Linked DNA regions of Homo sapiens: all the other regions are linked to region 1. Evidence: promoter capture Hi-C in 16 types of primary human blood cells and fetal thymus (Javierre and others, 2016). All regions are on one chromosome and are shown on one strand. Each heading gives the region's core, a stretch centred on a gene start or on the middle of the fragment in contact. The rest is flanking DNA. Distances are from core to core; before and after follow the strand shown.

Evidence for each region. The method cuts DNA at HindIII sites, captures the fragments that hold promoters and counts their contacts. A CHiCAGO score of 5 or more calls a contact.
Region 2: a fragment that was not itself captured here is called in contact with the fragment with the promoter of BCL2A1 in region 1 in 2 of 17 cell types (naive CD4 T cells and total CD8 T cells); the score reaches 5.9 in naive CD4 T cells.
Region 3: a contact is called between a fragment that was not itself captured here and the fragment with the promoter of BCL2A1 in region 1, in 2 of 17 cell types (megakaryocytes and endothelial precursors). The highest score is 6.6, in megakaryocytes.
Region 4: a fragment that was not itself captured here is called in contact with the fragment with the promoter of BCL2A1 in region 1 in 2 of 17 cell types (naive CD8 T cells and naive CD4 T cells); the score reaches 8.6 in naive CD8 T cells.
Region 5: a contact is called between a fragment that was not itself captured here and the fragment with the promoter of BCL2A1 in region 1, in 4 of 17 cell types (total CD4 T cells, total B cells, naive B cells and 1 more). The highest score is 6.3, in total CD4 T cells.
Region 6: a fragment that was not itself captured here is called in contact with the fragment with the promoter of BCL2A1 in region 1 in 3 of 17 cell types (naive CD4 T cells, total CD4 T cells and naive B cells); the score reaches 6.5 in naive CD4 T cells.

The regions. Positions count from the first base shown.
Region 1 is chr15:79,969,870-79,972,539 of GRCh38, reverse strand. BCL2A1 (BCL2 related protein A1) reads left to right here and starts at 1,344. Exons shown (of 2, transcript NM_004049.4): 1 at 1,344-1,840. The coding sequence starts at 1,421. RefSeq lists an enhancer at 721-1,920. The HindIII fragment of the contact is 17,831 bases long and covers 1-2,670 here.
Region 2 is chr15:79,316,300-79,318,969 of GRCh38, reverse strand. All of the region lies in intron 2 of TMED3 (transmembrane p24 trafficking protein 3), which reads right to left. Among named protein-coding and RNA genes, the nearest start is that of TMED3, 6.5 kb to the right of the region's middle. The HindIII fragment of the contact is 3,346 bases long and covers 1-2,670 here.
Region 3 is chr15:79,344,702-79,347,371 of GRCh38, reverse strand. It overlaps a transcript of TMED3 not described here. Among named protein-coding and RNA genes, the nearest start is that of TMED3, 35 kb to the right of the region's middle. The HindIII fragment of the contact is 2,280 bases long and covers 204-2,483 here.
Region 4 is chr15:79,362,271-79,364,940 of GRCh38, reverse strand. It overlaps a transcript of TMED3 not described here. Among named protein-coding and RNA genes, the nearest start is that of TMED3, 52 kb to the right of the region's middle. The HindIII fragment of the contact is 3,282 bases long and covers 1-2,670 here.
Region 5 is chr15:79,388,646-79,391,315 of GRCh38, reverse strand. It overlaps a transcript of TMED3 not described here. Among named protein-coding and RNA genes, the nearest start is that of MINAR1, 42 kb to the left of the region's middle. The HindIII fragment of the contact is 5,671 bases long and covers 1-2,670 here.
Region 6 is chr15:79,408,548-79,411,217 of GRCh38, reverse strand. It overlaps a transcript of TMED3 not described here. Among named protein-coding and RNA genes, the nearest start is that of MINAR1, 22 kb to the left of the region's middle. The HindIII fragment of the contact is 1,566 bases long and covers 584-2,149 here.

The DNA.
Region 1 (2,670 bases), core at 95-2,594:
TACAGGGGTGAGCCACCGTGCCTGGCCCAAAGAGGGTATTTTTTTCTTCCCTCTCGGTATCATCCTTACTCAATTACAAATGATCAAGGGCGGTACTGCCAGAGTCACCTCGAGAGGCCCTGTTCTCTGCCACCCAGGCTGTTTTGTAGTCTCCATTCCAAATTGTCGTTACTCCGGTTTACCCCGTGGATGGCGTTTAAGACTTTTCTTAAATTTGAAATTCACAGAACCATTTTAAAGTGAACAATTCAGTGGCATTTAGTACCTTCGCAGTGTTGTGCAACTTCCACCTCTATCTAGCTGCAAAACATTTTCTTTTCTTTTTTTTTTTGGAGACAGAGTCTCGCTCTGTTGCCCAGACTGGAGTGCAGTGGCGTGATCTTGGCTCACTGCAACTTCTGTCTCCCGGGTTCAAGCAATTCTCCTGCCTCAGCCTCCCGAGTAGCTGGGATTACAGGCACACGCCACCCGCCTGGCTAATTTTTTGTATTTTAGTACAGACGGGGATTTACCATATTGCCCAGGCTGGTCTCAAACTCCTGAGCTCAGGCAATCCGCCCGCCTTGTCCTCCCAAAGTGCTAGGATTACAGGCGTGAGCCAACGCGGCCGGCCTTGTAAAACATTTTCATCACACAAAAGAAAACCTTCTACCCATTAAGCAGTTACTCCTTCCTCTTCTCAGCCCCTGTCAACCACCAATTTGCTTTCTATCCTATGGATTTAACTGTCTGGATATTTCATAGAAATAGAATCACATAATGTATGACCTTTTCTGTTTGGCTTCTTTCTATTAGCCTAATGTTTTTGAGGTTCATTCCTGTTGAAGCATGTATCAGTTCTTCATTCCTTTTTTGGGATGAATAATGTTCCATAATTTATTTATCCTTTCGTCTGTTGATGAACATTTGAGTTGTGTCCACATCTTGGCTATTGTGAATAGTGCTGCCATGTACATTCGTATGTAAGTATTTGAGTATCTGTTGGGTGTATACCTATGAATGGAATTGCTGGGTCTTTTGACAATTCTGTATTTAACTTTTTGAGAAACTGCCAACATTTTCACAGGGGTTGTACCATTTCACATTCCCACCAGCAATCTACAAGGATTCTAATTTCTCCACATCCTGCATTTAAGACTTGCAAAGCTGAATTAATCACAGGATGAGGAAGTGGCTTCTCTGAAACATTTTCCTCTTTCACATTTTAAACTTTCTCTTTCATACATGACATGAAACACAGCCTACGCACGAAAGTGACTAGGAGGAAGGATATTATAAAGTGATGCAAACAGAAATTCCACCAGCCTCCATGTATCATCATGTGTCATAACTCAGTCAAGCTCAGTGAGCATTCTCAGCACATTGCCTCAACAGCTTCAAGGTGAGCCAGCTCAAGACTTTGCTCTCCACCAGGCAGAAGATGACAGACTGTGAATTTGGATATATTTACAGGCTGGCTCAGGACTATCTGCAGTGCGTCCTACAGATACCACAACCTGGATCAGGTCCAAGCAAAACGTCCAGAGTGCTACAAAATGTTGCGTTCTCAGTCCAAAAAGAAGTGGAAAAGAATCTGAAGTCATGCTTGGACAATGTTAATGTTGTGTCCGTAGACACTGCCAGAACACTATTCAACCAAGTGATGGAAAAGGAGTTTGAAGACGGCATCATTAACTGGGGAAGAATTGTAACCATATTTGCATTTGAAGGTATTCTCATCAAGAAACTTCTACGACAGCAAATTGCCCCGGATGTGGATACCTATAAGGAGATTTCATATTTTGTTGCGGAGTTCATAATGAATAACACAGGAGAATGGATAAGGCAAAACGGAGGCTGGGTATGTGTGATGGAAAAATTCTTCATTGTTCTTTCCTGTGAAATAGAAATTGAGAATTTCCTTGCTAGTTAAAACAACAACAAAACACTTTACCTAAGAATACTATTTTCCTTGGGTGGTTTGTTTTAATTTTTAAAATAAAAATATACTTTCTGGCTTATTTCCAATGAATCCTTGAACTTGAACTTTATAGTTGGAAAGCACTTATGTTTTCAGTTTTTATTCTTAACAGTATAAATTACAGTAGTGAGCTTTGGGGATTAATAAAGCACCTCTCTCATGCAGCTTCACAATCAGCTGTGCACACACTCTAATCTAGTACTTAGCTTTTGCTAGGGTTGTCATGACAGTACAGACAGTACAGAAATTTCTACAATCAGCACAGAAAGTTGCTATCAGATGCTGTTATTTTTAGGTATTTATGGGTTGCAAAAGACAGGTGTAAATTTTTGTAAGTTCATCGCTTACAAATTGGTGTTTTTCAGTTTACTAATACATAATAAATAGTAACATATATTAATATATAGCAAATTACATTACATATAATATATAACACATTATTACTAATAATAAATTCCGGGCTGTTAAAGTTTGTTGATTAAAACATAATATACTGTATGACCAGCAAGAACCTTTATTCAAGAATTTTCAAATAAAAATTTACTTTATTATCAGTGCCTAAAAAAGCCAAGACTATGTAGAGGCCTGTGTTGAAACTCATGTTGGTAAAAAGCCTGACACAGCTGGATGTATATGGTTTCCTTTATATTCCAATATACTTAATAATTATTTTTTTAAAGCACTTAAGTGTTCATTGATCCTCTCTCCAA
Region 2 (2,670 bases), core at 52-2,551, 650 kb after region 1:
AGGTGGGCTATACCTGCAGACATTTGATATTGAAAAAGGAACAAATGATCCTAAGAAGGGTTCCAGACATCAGGAAGTTGACTCCAAAGGGAACTTCCAAAGCCAACTGGCTTCAAAGGCCAACCACCAGAAAAGAAAGCTCAGGTGTAGGCCTCTGCACTGGGGACAATGGTCGCATTTGTGGTTGCTCCTCCTAGCTCTCCGGGGAATGCTTCCAAAGCTCACTAAAGCATGTCAGCTGTCACAGATGGAACAGGACACTAAACTGGGAAGGAAGCAGGAAAGAGGTCAATGTGGAGTCGGGCTTAACCTATGTGAACCTGTGTCAAAGCTAACTCAAGATATGCCATTTCTAGAAGCCTCCCTAGTGCTCCCTGCCAGGCACTACCTATACAGGCAGACTTGGTAACACAAATCCGTTCTGTATTTACATCACCCTGGTGATCCCTGGAAAATCACAAAGGATTGAAGGTGGGGCTGGGGGACTCAGGATAGACACTTGTAGGATGAGGTTACAAGGATTTCAAATCATGGCTGAGTTTGAATAGCTCACACTTCCACTAATTCCTTCATTCAAACATTTACTCAATGCTTACTTTCCTTCCAGGCACTGTGCTAGGCCCAGGGAATTAAGAATCAGAGCCAGACACAGTCCTGGGTCTCAGAAAGTTCCCAATTTAAAGAAAAAATTACTCAACTAGAATGCAGTATAAACAGCCAACAACAGAAGGGTATGCAGAGCGGCAGGAACACCCCAGGAGAAAGATGCTGAGCCTGCCAGAGAAGATGGAGTACTTGACATGGGACACGACAAGCTGAGCCCTGATGGATGGGCAGGACGTCACCAGGCTGAGAACACATCCCAAGCAGCAGAAGCACAGGCAAAGAACTGTACAGGGCCTGGTCTGGGATCAGGGACTGACATGGTGATGGGGATGCGTGGAGAAGCAGCTGTGGGGAGGTGGAAGCTCACAGTAAAGGGCCTCGAGGTCCAAGACTTTATCGTGTGGCTCTGTGAGCAGAAGATTGGCAAGATCGGAATCCCACTTTACGAGAATCTGCCTCTGGCAGCTATGATGCAGAAAGGGATGTATGCGAACCAGTTTAGAGGCAGGGAAACCACTTAGGTGGCTGCAATTCTACTGGGAAGAGAAGATGCAGGCCTCGGTTAAGAAGGTCGCCATGTCAGGGAAGAGTGGACTGGAGGGAAATTGATGGCACTGAAATCACAGGACTTCATAACAAAGTGGATCATTCTTGAAATCAGTGGGAGGGATGGAGACACACACATAAGTGTATACATGTATGTATCATGGTCATAGGTAGTATATGTGTATATGTATGTGTGGCACACACACATATGTATTCATATGTACACATATGCATACATGTTTGTATGTACAAATCCGCAGAGAACACTGTGGAAGGGCTCATTTGATTTTCCAGGCTATAATTCCATTCTCCAAGTTTATGTGTCACAAACTCATTCAGAAACAAAGTGTACAACTAGACTCACTTGACTGGGGACTCCTTGGACCGTAGGCCCTGGCCTGGGAATTCAGCAGTACTGGTCAGCATCTCCAGCCTTCTCCCAGGACCCAGAGTCACTGGAGAGGAAGGAGGAAGGGAAAAAGAAGAGGGAGGACACAGAAATCACAGGTGTAGACACCAAGACAGAGGATGAGTCAGATATTTATGTGAAGCATCACTTTAAAGGCCTAGATCCAGCGACACAGGCCAGAAACCGGCACGGAGACTGCATGAAGAGGCCTCGTGGCCTTTAAAGGAACAATCTCAGATCAGATCAGTGATAGCAAAGGGACCAGTTCCAAGAGGGTAACGGAGCAACAGGTGATACTCTACAGCTTTCTTGGCAACTAACACCTGCAGACGCCTTCAGGACCTTGCACAGACGCTGCAAGAGACCCCAGAGCAATACATCCCCGAGAATCATCCCCAAGAATCACAGCTACCTGGATGCTCACCCTCACCACAAAAACATGCTACTTCCCCATCCGCTGAGATCTTCAGTTAGTGCTCATCTAAAGCAAACTTGTTCAGCCTGTTACCACAAAATTTCAGTTAGGCAGTCCCTCAGCCAGCTTCCCACCCAGCAGAAAACCAACAGAACCCCTCTGTTTTCAGGGTCCTGTTTTTCCAGGCCACGAGTCCCCAGGTCTCCTCGTGTGTGACCTTCCGCCCTGCTAAGACCACCAGTCCTGGCTGGCTTCCAGTGTCCTGGAGCCTCACAGGGATTATAGTTGCCACTTCATGGTGACTGTCGGTCTCTAGGACACCCTGACCCATCCCACCTCTGGCACCATCCCTTTCCTCCATCTCCACGCTGACATCCCATCCTGTCCCAGCCACCAGCGGATGCCGAGGTCTTCAGTCTGTAACCACTGACAAATTCCTGCAGCCCTCACCTCATCAGGCCTCCCCTGACCCAAGTATCTGCTTCTTCAAATTCTTCAAGAACTCAAAGACAGGGAAGTAGAAGCTGGCATCAGAGCACTTAAGAAAACCTTTAATCCTTCCTAGATCACCAGGGAGGTAGCTCTTGGCCTTTGACCTCTGTCAGAAACCTTCAGCTCTGACCAGGATCTTCCCAGATTCTCAGGAAGCCTGGAAGCCCCTCGAGCTTGGCTTTCCTGAAGTCGCATTCTCCTG
Region 3 (2,670 bases), core at 94-2,593, 630 kb after region 1:
CTTCAATACCTAGTTTACTAAGAGTTTTTAACATGAAGCAGTGTTGAATTTTATTGAAAGCCTTTTCTGCATCTCTTGAGATAATCATGTGGGTTTTTTGTCTTTAGTTCTGTTTATGTAATGAATCATGTTTATTGATTTGCATATGTTGAACAAACCTTGCATCCTAGGGGTAAAGCCTACTTGATCATGGTGGGTAAGCTTTTTGATGTGCTGCTGGATTCAGTTTGCCAGTATTTTGTTGAGGATTTTTGCACTGATGTTCATCTAGGAAATTGACCTGAAGTTTTCTTTATCTGTTGTGTCTCTGCCGTGTTTTGGTATCAGGATGATGTTGGCCTCAGAATGAATTAGGAAGGAGTCCCTCCTCCTTAAATTTTTGGAGTAGTTTTAGCAGAAATGCTACCAGATCGTCTTTGTACATCTGGTAGAATTCAGCTGTGGAATACTTCTGGTCCTGGGCTTTTTTGGTTAGTAGGCTATTTATTACTGGCTCAATTTCAGAGCTCATTATTGATGATGTTTCAAGTAAGGCCACACACATACAACTATCAGGTCTTCTACAAACCTGATAAAAACAAGCAATGAGGAAAGGATTCCCCATTCAATAAATGGTGCTGGGAGAATTCGCTAGCCATAGGCAGGAGATTGAAACTGGACCCCTTCCTTACACCATATACAAAAATCAATTCAAGATGGAATAAAGACTTAAATGGAAAACCCAAAACTATAAAAACCTGATTAGTTTGTTCTCATGCTGCTAATAAGGATGTACTCAAGACTGGGTAATTTATAAAGAAAAAGAGGTTTAATGAACTCACAGTTCCCATGGCTCAGGAGGCCTCACAATCATGGTGGAAGGTGAAAGAGGAGCAAAGGCACATATATATGGTGGCAGGTAAGAGAGCATGTGCAGGGGTACTGCCCTTTATAAAACCATCAGATCTTGTGAGACTTATTCACTATCATGAGAACAGGATGGTGGGAATAGCCCCCATGATTCAATTATGTCCACCTGGTCCCTCCCACGACACATGGGAATTATGGGATCTACAATTTAAAATGAGATTTGGGTGGGGACACAAAGTCTAACCATATCAAAACCCTATAAGACAACCTAGGCAATACCATTCTGGACATAGGAACAGGCAAAACTTCATGACAAAGACACCAAAAGCAATTGTAACAAAAGCAAAAACTGACAAATGGGATCTAATTAAACTAAAGAGCTTCTGCACAGCAGAGGAAACTATCAACAGAGTGAAGAGCCAACCTACAGAATGGGAGAAAATTTTTGCAAACTATGCATCTGACAAAGGTCTAACTCCAGCATCTATAAAGAACTTAAACAAATTTACAAGAAAAAATACAAACAACTCCATTAAGAAGCGGGAAAATGACATAAACAGATACTTTTCAAAAGAAGGCATACACGTGGCCAACAATCTTATAAAAAAGAGCTCAACATCACTGATGATTACAGAAATGCAAATCAAAACCATGAGAAGATGTCATCTTACACCAGTCAGAATGGCTATTAGTAAAAGGGAAAAAATAACAGATGCTAGTGAGGTTGTGGAGAAAAAGGAATGCTTATACACTGGTGGTGGGAATGTAAATTAGTTCAACCATTGTGGAAGACAGTGTGATGATTCCTCAAAGACCTATAAGCAGAAATATTATTTGACCCAGCAATCCCACTACTGGGCATATACCCAAAGGAATATAAATTGTTTCGTTATAAAGACACATGTATGTGTATATTCATTGCAGCACTACTCACAATAGCAAAGACATGGAATCAACAACCTAAATGCCCACCAATAATAGACTGGATAAAGAAAATGTGGTACATATAAACCATGGAATACTATGCAGCCAGAAAAAGAACAAGATCATGTCATTTGCAGGAACACGGATGGAGCTGGAGGTCATTATCCTTAGCAAACTAATGCAGAAACAGAAAACCAAATACTGCATGTTCTCACTTATAAGTGAGAGCTAAATGATGAGAACACATGGACACATAAAGGGGAACAACACACTATGGCCTATCAGAGGGTGAAGGGTGGGAAGGGAGAGGATCAGGAAAAATAACTAATGGGTACTAGGCTTAATATCTGGGTGATGAAATAATCTGTACAACAAACCCCCATGACACCAGTGTACCTATGTAACAAACCTGCACATGTACCCCTGAACTTAAAAGTTAATAAAAAATAAAGTAAATAAATTTTTAAAAAGAGCTTTCTATTTTTCTTCCCTGTCTGGATCTTTGGCCCAGTCTTTCTATTGAGTTGGTGGTCCTCTTCTTCCTGATTGGTAGCTCTCTATATTTATATGTCTTTCATTGTCCCCCTGTTTTCTCTCTTTCTGTGAGCATTTCCATTAAATTCCCATATGCTGCTCTGTCTCTCAAATTATAAAACAAAAACAGTCTCTTCCACATCTCCTTCCGGCTACTGCTCAAACACAGCAAAGCTTTAAAGTTAAACTCCTATAAAACATTGTCTCCCTTTCACACTGCCTCATCTCACTGGGCTCACTACAGTGAAGTCTTTGCCTCCAATGTTTCGTACAAATTACTCTTGTTAAGTCACCAACGATCTCGACCTTGCCAGATCCAAAGTTCAGTTACCAGTTCTCTTCTTGCTGGCCCTCTGGGTTGAA
Region 4 (2,670 bases), core at 45-2,544, 610 kb after region 1:
GGGCAGAGGGCCGGTGTGACACCTTTCTGTATCCCAAGCTCTTTCCCAGTGTCCTGGAAGAATCAAGTCACACATGGGCTTGAAGGATGAATGTGGGGTTTTACTGGGTGGTGGAGGTGGCTCTCAGAGGGATGGATGGGGAGCTGGGAGGATGCAGTGAGAGGATGATCTGCCCCTAGAGTTTGGCCATCCAGTGGCCAAACTCCTCTCTGACAGCCCCCAGCTGAACTCCTCTCGGTGTTCAGACATTCCTCCTCTTCTCTCTTTCTCTGCTGTGTCGTTCCACCATTCATCTGCGTGTTTCATCTCCTCATCTGCTTGTCTGCTCCTGGAACCTGGGGTTCAGGGTTTATATGGGTGCAGGATCGGGGCATGGCAGGCCAAAAGACAACTTTTTGGGAATGAAAACAGAAATGCCTGTTCCCACTTAGGGCCATGGGGCTCCAGGCTCGAGGGGTGGGGCCTTTGCTGGGGAACCGACCTCTTCTACCCAGTATTTCTCTGTCTCCTATCCGTATCAAAAGGAGTTAGCCAGCTTGCTTTAGGCAGACAGTAAAGAAAGAGCCCCCGGAGAACCTCCGACCTGGCCCACAAGTGCTTACACCAGATATTTTATGCATATAAGGGAACTTGCACAGGGGGCTTGCTTAAACATGCCCGCAGGGGACTAAGAGCCCACATGCACACTGGGGGAATGGGGGTGGAGCCACCAGGAATTCGTGCCTTATACAAATAGGGAACCCAGTCCCATCAGCTTCTATATAAAAAGCCTTTGTATTCAACTGTGAAGGGCCAACCGGCAACCTGCTTTTCAGGACCCCTCTCTTTGCTGAGAGCTTTCCTTTTGCTTAAAAAATACTACTCCACTCACTCTATGGTGTCCGCATGCCTAATTTTTCCTGGTTGTGAGACAAGAACCTGGACCTAGCTGAGCTAAAGGAGCAAAAATCCTGCATTATATTGATTTATGCCTTTGGCTGTAATCTCTGCCTCTCCGACTTAAAAAACCCTTACCTGTAAGACATCGGAGAGTTTGGATCTTAAGCATGAGCCTCCCGATTCTCCTTGCTTGGCACCCTGTAGTAAAGGCCGTACTTTGTCTTGCTGCGATCCCGGTGTCAGTGTTGAGCTTTGCTGCACCAGGTGGGTGGACCCAAGTTCGGTTTGGTAACAATGGAAAGGAGTTTAGAGTACAAAAATAATCAAATCTGCCTTTGCTTTACGTTAAAACTGGAGAAAATTAACAATTTCCTTTTAAAAGTATTGTTTTGCTGCTCAGTTGTAAACTGTAATTGTTTTAGTAAAAATATTATATATCATCAAATAGGGTGAAGTCACTTTCATATACTCATCAGCCATTTGTGTTTCCTTTGTGAATGACTTGTTTCTCTCTTTGGCTGTCATTTTTCACTTGGAGATTTTTTTTTTTTTTTTTTTGAGTCATTGTAGTTCTTTGTCACTTGGAGTTTTAAAAAGCAAATTATAAGCATTCCTTAAATATAAAGTCACTGGCCATTTCTTTGTGATACAGTATGCAAGGATTTTTCCTGGTTTGCTGTTTGTCATTTTTTATATTTGATATACAGAAGTTTTACAAGTTTTTAGTCTGGTCTATTAATCTGTTCTTATAATTTCTACCTTTGTTGTATGATTAGAAAGTTCTTTCTGAAATAAAGGATGTGTAAATAACAATTACCTATATTTTCTGTTGTGTGCAGTTTTTTAAACATTCAAATCCACCTGGAATTTGTGTTCATATATGATACAAGACATAAAACTATTTTTTCAAATAGTTACCTAATTATTCCTAATCTATTTATTCACTAGTCCATTGTTTCCCTCTGACATAAACTTTTCTCATCTAATGAATTACTGTGTATACCTGCATCTGATTCTGGACTGCTGTGTTTTGTCAGTCAGTCTACCCCTAATCAAACAATTTTCATACTGTAACTTGGAAATGCTACATTATCTGATAGCACACATTATCTTATCCCTCTTTTTTGTTTTTAGAATGTTTGCAATTATTCTTGTATTAGTCTGTTCTCATGCTGCTAATAAAGATATACCTGAGACTGGGTAATTTAAAAAGAAAAGAGATTTAATGGACTCACAGTTCCACATGGCTGGGGAGGCCTCACAATCATGGCAGAAGACAGAGGAAGAGCAAAGTCACATCTTACATGGCAGCAGGCAGAGATAAGAGTGCATGTGCAGGGAACTCCCATTTATAAAACCATCAGATCTCATGAGACTTAATCACTATCATGAGGACAGCACAGGAAAAACCTGCCCCCATGATTCAATTACCTCCAACCAGGTCCCTCCCATGACACTTGGGGATTATTACAATTCAAGCTGAGATTTGGGTGAGGACACAGAGCCAAACCATATCAATTCTTATACATAAATAAATATTTTATATTAACTTTTAATTTTTATTTAAACTTTTTTTAGAGACAGAGTCCCACTCTGTCACCCAGGCTGGAGTGCAGTGGCATGATGAAGGCTCATACAGCCTCAACCTCCCAGGCTCAAGAAATCCTACCACCTCAGCCTCCTGAGTAGCTGGAACTCAGGAAGACTGAGTAGCTGGACAGGCATGCCACCACCTGGCTAATTTTTTTTTTTTTTTTTTATAGAGGCAAGATCACACTATATGCCCCAGGC
Region 5 (2,670 bases), core at 64-2,563, 580 kb after region 1:
ATCAAGATGGAAATTGAAAAATTCTTCAAACTGAACAACAATAATGACAAAACCTATCAAAGGTGTGGCTAAGAAGAAAGTCTGTGGCCCTAAACACCTACATCAAAAAGACTGAAAGAGCACAAACTGACATTCTAACTGACATCCACACCTGAAGAAACTAGAGAAACAAGAACAAACCAAACTCAAACCCAGCAGAAGAAAGGAAATAACCAGGATCAGAGCAGAACTAAATGAAATTGAAATGAAAAAAAAAATACAAAAGATAAATGAAACAAAAAGCTGGTTCTTTGAAAAGATGAATAGAATTGATAGACCATTAGCAAGATTAACCAAGAAAAGAGGAGAGAAAATCCAAATAACCTCAATAATAAATGAAATGGGAGACATTAGAACTGACACCACAGAAATATAAAAGATGGTTCAAGGCTACTATGAACACCTTTATGTACATAAACTAGAAAACCTAGAAGAGATGGATAAATTCCTGGAAAAATACAACCCTCCTAATTTAAATTAGGAAGAAATAGATACCCTGAACAGACCAATAACAAGCAGTGAGATTGAAATGGTAACTTAAAAATTAAAAAAAAAGTCCAAAACCACATGGATTCACCGCAGAATTCTACCAGACATTCAAAGAAGAATTGGTACCAATCCTTTTGACACTCTTCCACAACACAGAGAAACAGGGAACCCTCCCTAATTCATTCTATGGAGCCGTATCACCCTAATGCCAAACCAGGAAAGGACTTAACCAAAAAAGGTAGCTACAGACTGATATCCCTGATGAACATAGATGCTAAAATCCTTAACAAAATACTAGCTAACGAATCCAACAACATATCAAAAAGATAATCCACCATGATCAAGTGGGTTTCATACTGGGGATGCAGGGATGGTTTAACATACGCAAGTCAATAAATGTGATACGCCAGATAAACAGAATTAAAAACAAAAATCACATGATCATCTCAACAGATGGAGAAAAAAGCATTTGACAAAATCCATCATTGCTTCATGATTATAACTCTCAGCAAAATCAGCATACAAGTGACATAGCTCAATGTAATAAAAGCCGTCCATGACAAATCCACAGCCAACATAATACTGAATAGGGAAAAGTTGAAAGCATTCCCTCTGAGAACTGGAACAAGATAGGGAAGCCCACTCTCACCATTCTTCCCTAACGTAGTACTGGAAGTCCTAGCCAGAGCAATCAGACAAGAGAAAGAAATAAAGGGCACCCAAATCAGTAAAGAGGAAGTCAAACTGTCACTGTTTGCTGATTATATGATTGTTTACCTAGAAAACCCTAAAGACTCCTCCAGAAAGTTCCTAGAATGGATAAAGGAATTCAACAAAGGTTCTGGATACAAGATTAATGTACACAGATCAGTAGCTCTTCTATACACCAACAGCAACCAAGTGGAGAATCGAATCAAGAACTCAACCCCTTTTATGACAGTTGCAAAAACAAAACAAAACTTAGGAATATACCCAACTAAGGAGGCAAAAGACCTCTACAAGAAAAACTAAACACTGCTGAAAGACACCACAGATGACATCAAAAAATGGAAACACATCCCATGCTCATGGATGGGTGGAATCAATATTGTGAAAACGACCATACTGCCAAAAACAATATACAAATTCAACACAATCCCCATTAAAATACCACCATCATTCTTCACAGAATTAGAGAACACAATTCTAAAATTCATATGGAACCAAACAAGAGCCCACATAGCCAACACAAGACTTAGCAAAAAGAAAAAGTCTGGAGGCATCACACTACCTGATTTCAAACTATACTATAAGCCCATAATCACCAAAAATAACATGGTACTGGTATAAAAACAGGCACATAGGCCAATGGAACAGAATAGAGAACCCGGAAATAAACCCAAATACTTACAGACAACTGATCTTCGACAAAGCAAACAAAAACTTAAAGTGGGGAAAGGACACCCTTTTCAACAAATGGTGCTGGAATAATTGGCTAGCCACATGTAGGAGAATGAAACTGGATCCTCACTTCTCACCATATACAAAAATCGACTCCAGATGGATTAAGGACTTAAATCTAAGACCTGAAACTATAAAAATTCTAGAAGACAACATTGGAAAAGCCCGTCTAGACATTGGCTTAGGCAAGGATTTTATGACCAAGAACCCAAAGGCAAATGCAATAAAAACAAAGATAAATAGCTGGGACTTAATTAAACTAAATAGCTTTTGCACAGCAAAAGGAACAGTCAGCAGAGTAAATAGACGACCCACAGAGTGGGAGAAATTCTTCACAATCTATACATCTAACGAAGGACTAATATCCAGAATCTACAACAAACTCAAACAAATCAGTAAGAAAAAAAACAATCTCATCAAAAAGTGGGCTAAGGACATGAATAGATAATTCTCAAAAGAAGATATACAAATGGCTTGCAAACATAGAAAAAATACTTAACATCACTAATGATCAGGGAAATGCAAATCGAAACCCAATGTGATACCACCTTACTCCTGCAAGAATGGCCATAATCTAAACACCAAAAAACAGTATATGTTGGTGGGGATGTGGTGATCAGGGAACACTTTTACACTGCTGGTAGGAACTAGTACAGCCACTATAGAAAACAGAGTGAAGATTACTTCATGAACTAAAACTAG
Region 6 (2,670 bases), core at 117-2,616, 560 kb after region 1:
TGCCAGAAATGGGGAGCTCTTGGGAACCACAAGATAAATTGAACAGGCTCTAGTTCCTGTTTTTCCCCTGGATGCCTGTGTGACCCCGGGTGAGTTACCTAATATCTCTGCAACTATTTCTTCCCGCATACCTTAAGTGATTAAATAAAATGATCAGTTCTGGAATTCTGAAAATTTCTTTGCTATTGCTAATTATGAGCAACCAGCATGTTTCTTGTTCTCGGGTTACAAATCAGTAAGACAAATATAAAGAGAATGCTTTGACATCAGGGGTCAAAAGACACATAAAACACTATCGTATAGATGTGACATTCCTGTCAATATATTTTCATTAAAAAGGCAGGACATGTTTCTGGAAATGTATTGTGATAGACTTGGGAAATTATAATTTAGATTGAAGCACTTGCAAATCATTGCTTCTGAGAGGTTGCTGCCAACTTTCATAATTTTATTTTTCCTTTATCCTGGGCTGTTATTCATATACATGCATCTACGAGAATGTATATATATATATATATACACACACACATATACACATATATATATTTCACATGTATCTTATTTTTTTCCACAATTTAAAGCTTAAACACCTATGGGAAATCTTCAAGGAATATTTTGTAGGTCCCCAATAGCAGTCATTTCCTGTTAAATTAAGCTGGTGATGGAATTTACTGTATTACCTAAACCAATTTTCATCCAGTTGCAGTGAACATCCTGTCTGGCATGCTGGCTGCCTTTGTGATAGTTGTGCTCTTTTGCTGGCCACATCACAGCTGCCCCTCCAAGTGCTCTCCCCAATTAGGAAGATGCAATTAGATGACAGCGTCACCCTCTCCTATACTGTCAGTAATAAGGAACAGATGCTTCATTCCGATGGGAAAAATTGGGTCTTTTCACAATTATTAATATCCTGAATTAGAATGGGTTGCTTTGTCATTTTACCTAGTTTTCTATGAATCTATAATATTTAATGTCTTGTTTATTTAACCATGAGGCTGATAAAGAAAGGGAACACTATAAACCATTCTAAGCATATAGAATTATGGGCTATGTTTCTGGAAGGAAATATATAAACCTCCCAGGCCTATGAACTTATTTTTCATTTTAAACAATTATTTACTTAATGAATAGGTGGCATATGTGTGCGGCGTAAAATTCATCGGGTATGAAAGGAGCATAGGGTGTAGTGAAAAGTACCAATCCAATCTAGTATACCTCTTATCTAAACTCAGCACAAAATTTCCTAAAATGGATCTTCGGGTATTAGTTTACCCCTCTACAGGGGCAACTAAGGTTACCAATTTCTTCTGTATCCTCTAGCTTATTTTACAGTTCAGGAAAATTGGGCTCAGAACAGCAAAATGATTAATCTACAGTCACATGGCAAGTTGTTTGCTGCAGCCAAACTAGAACCTTGGCCTCTTCACTATTAACAAAATTTCACCCATAATACATAGCTGTCACTCGGCTCCAGGCAAACCAAAGGCATTCTTTTCTTACAATACGAACCAAAACTTTCTAATAAGAGCAGAAGGCTGAGGAAAACATTCAGACAAAGTGCTTTTATTTGGTTGAATGGTCAATAAAGAACACAGAATATTCTTTTTAAAAGAGATGTATAAGAAATCTATTCCAACGACCTTATTTTACACATGAAGAAATTAAGGCTCACACTGGGAAACAATTGTCCAGCAAATTAATGTTAGCGGGCCCATTTGCATGAACTCTGAGCAGTGTTTGTGACTTTGCAAATGGAATACGGGTCCTCCCTTGCCCCACCTCCAATCATTACCTCTTGGTTCCCCTGCCTATATCTGGGGCATTGTGGCTGTGTTATACTGGAAAATGCAGGAGCGCATTGATTTCCTATAATGGTTTTATCTATAGAAATTTGTGAGGACATCCTTTGGTTGGAAGATTGGCACTGAATATCTGAAAGTGCCAAATTGAACTGAGAAGGAGTGTTCCAAAGTAGTGCCTCAAATGAACCTTTGCTCATCAAGAAAAGTCTCTCTCTGCACTTGCAGACTGTAACTCCTCGACCTGTCCTTATAGGATGCATCCTGCAGTTGGAAATGTGTTGCCAGGCATTAAAGACTTCTTGTTGCCCTCTTAGTAATGCAGGTTATAGGCTTCAGGAATATAAGCTTCAGGTTTTAGGCTTCAGAAAAGCAATCATGGAATCAAGCTTTTGAGAGAAGCTCTGTACTTAAATTAACAAAGAAATCTATATTGAGTCAAGTTTTCTTGTATCTTTCTAATTTAAGTTGTATTAGGACAATGTAATTACAGAGACCAAAAGAGAGATTCACAGTGAGATAAAAATGTGAATACAGAGAAGCCGTGGGCCCTTCTTCTCTGCCCTGGGAAAGATGCTATACCTTTAAAATACTTCATGTGGTACTTCTATGCCCTTCCTCTTTTGAATCGCACAAGGCTGGGAGGCAGGAATTCTCACCACTTGCATTTTAAAGGTGAGAAAAATGAAACCCTAGAGAGGTCAAGTGATTTATGCAAAGCCACACAGCACAGAATTGACCATCCCAGATCTGGACCCTGGGTTTCTGGCTTCCAGGGGCCATTCTCTCTGAGTTCTCCCCACACCTCTCTTCCCACTCCTTCTCTGTCTCCGTGGCTCAATTCTTTCCTCCTCTCACTCACATTTAGGCA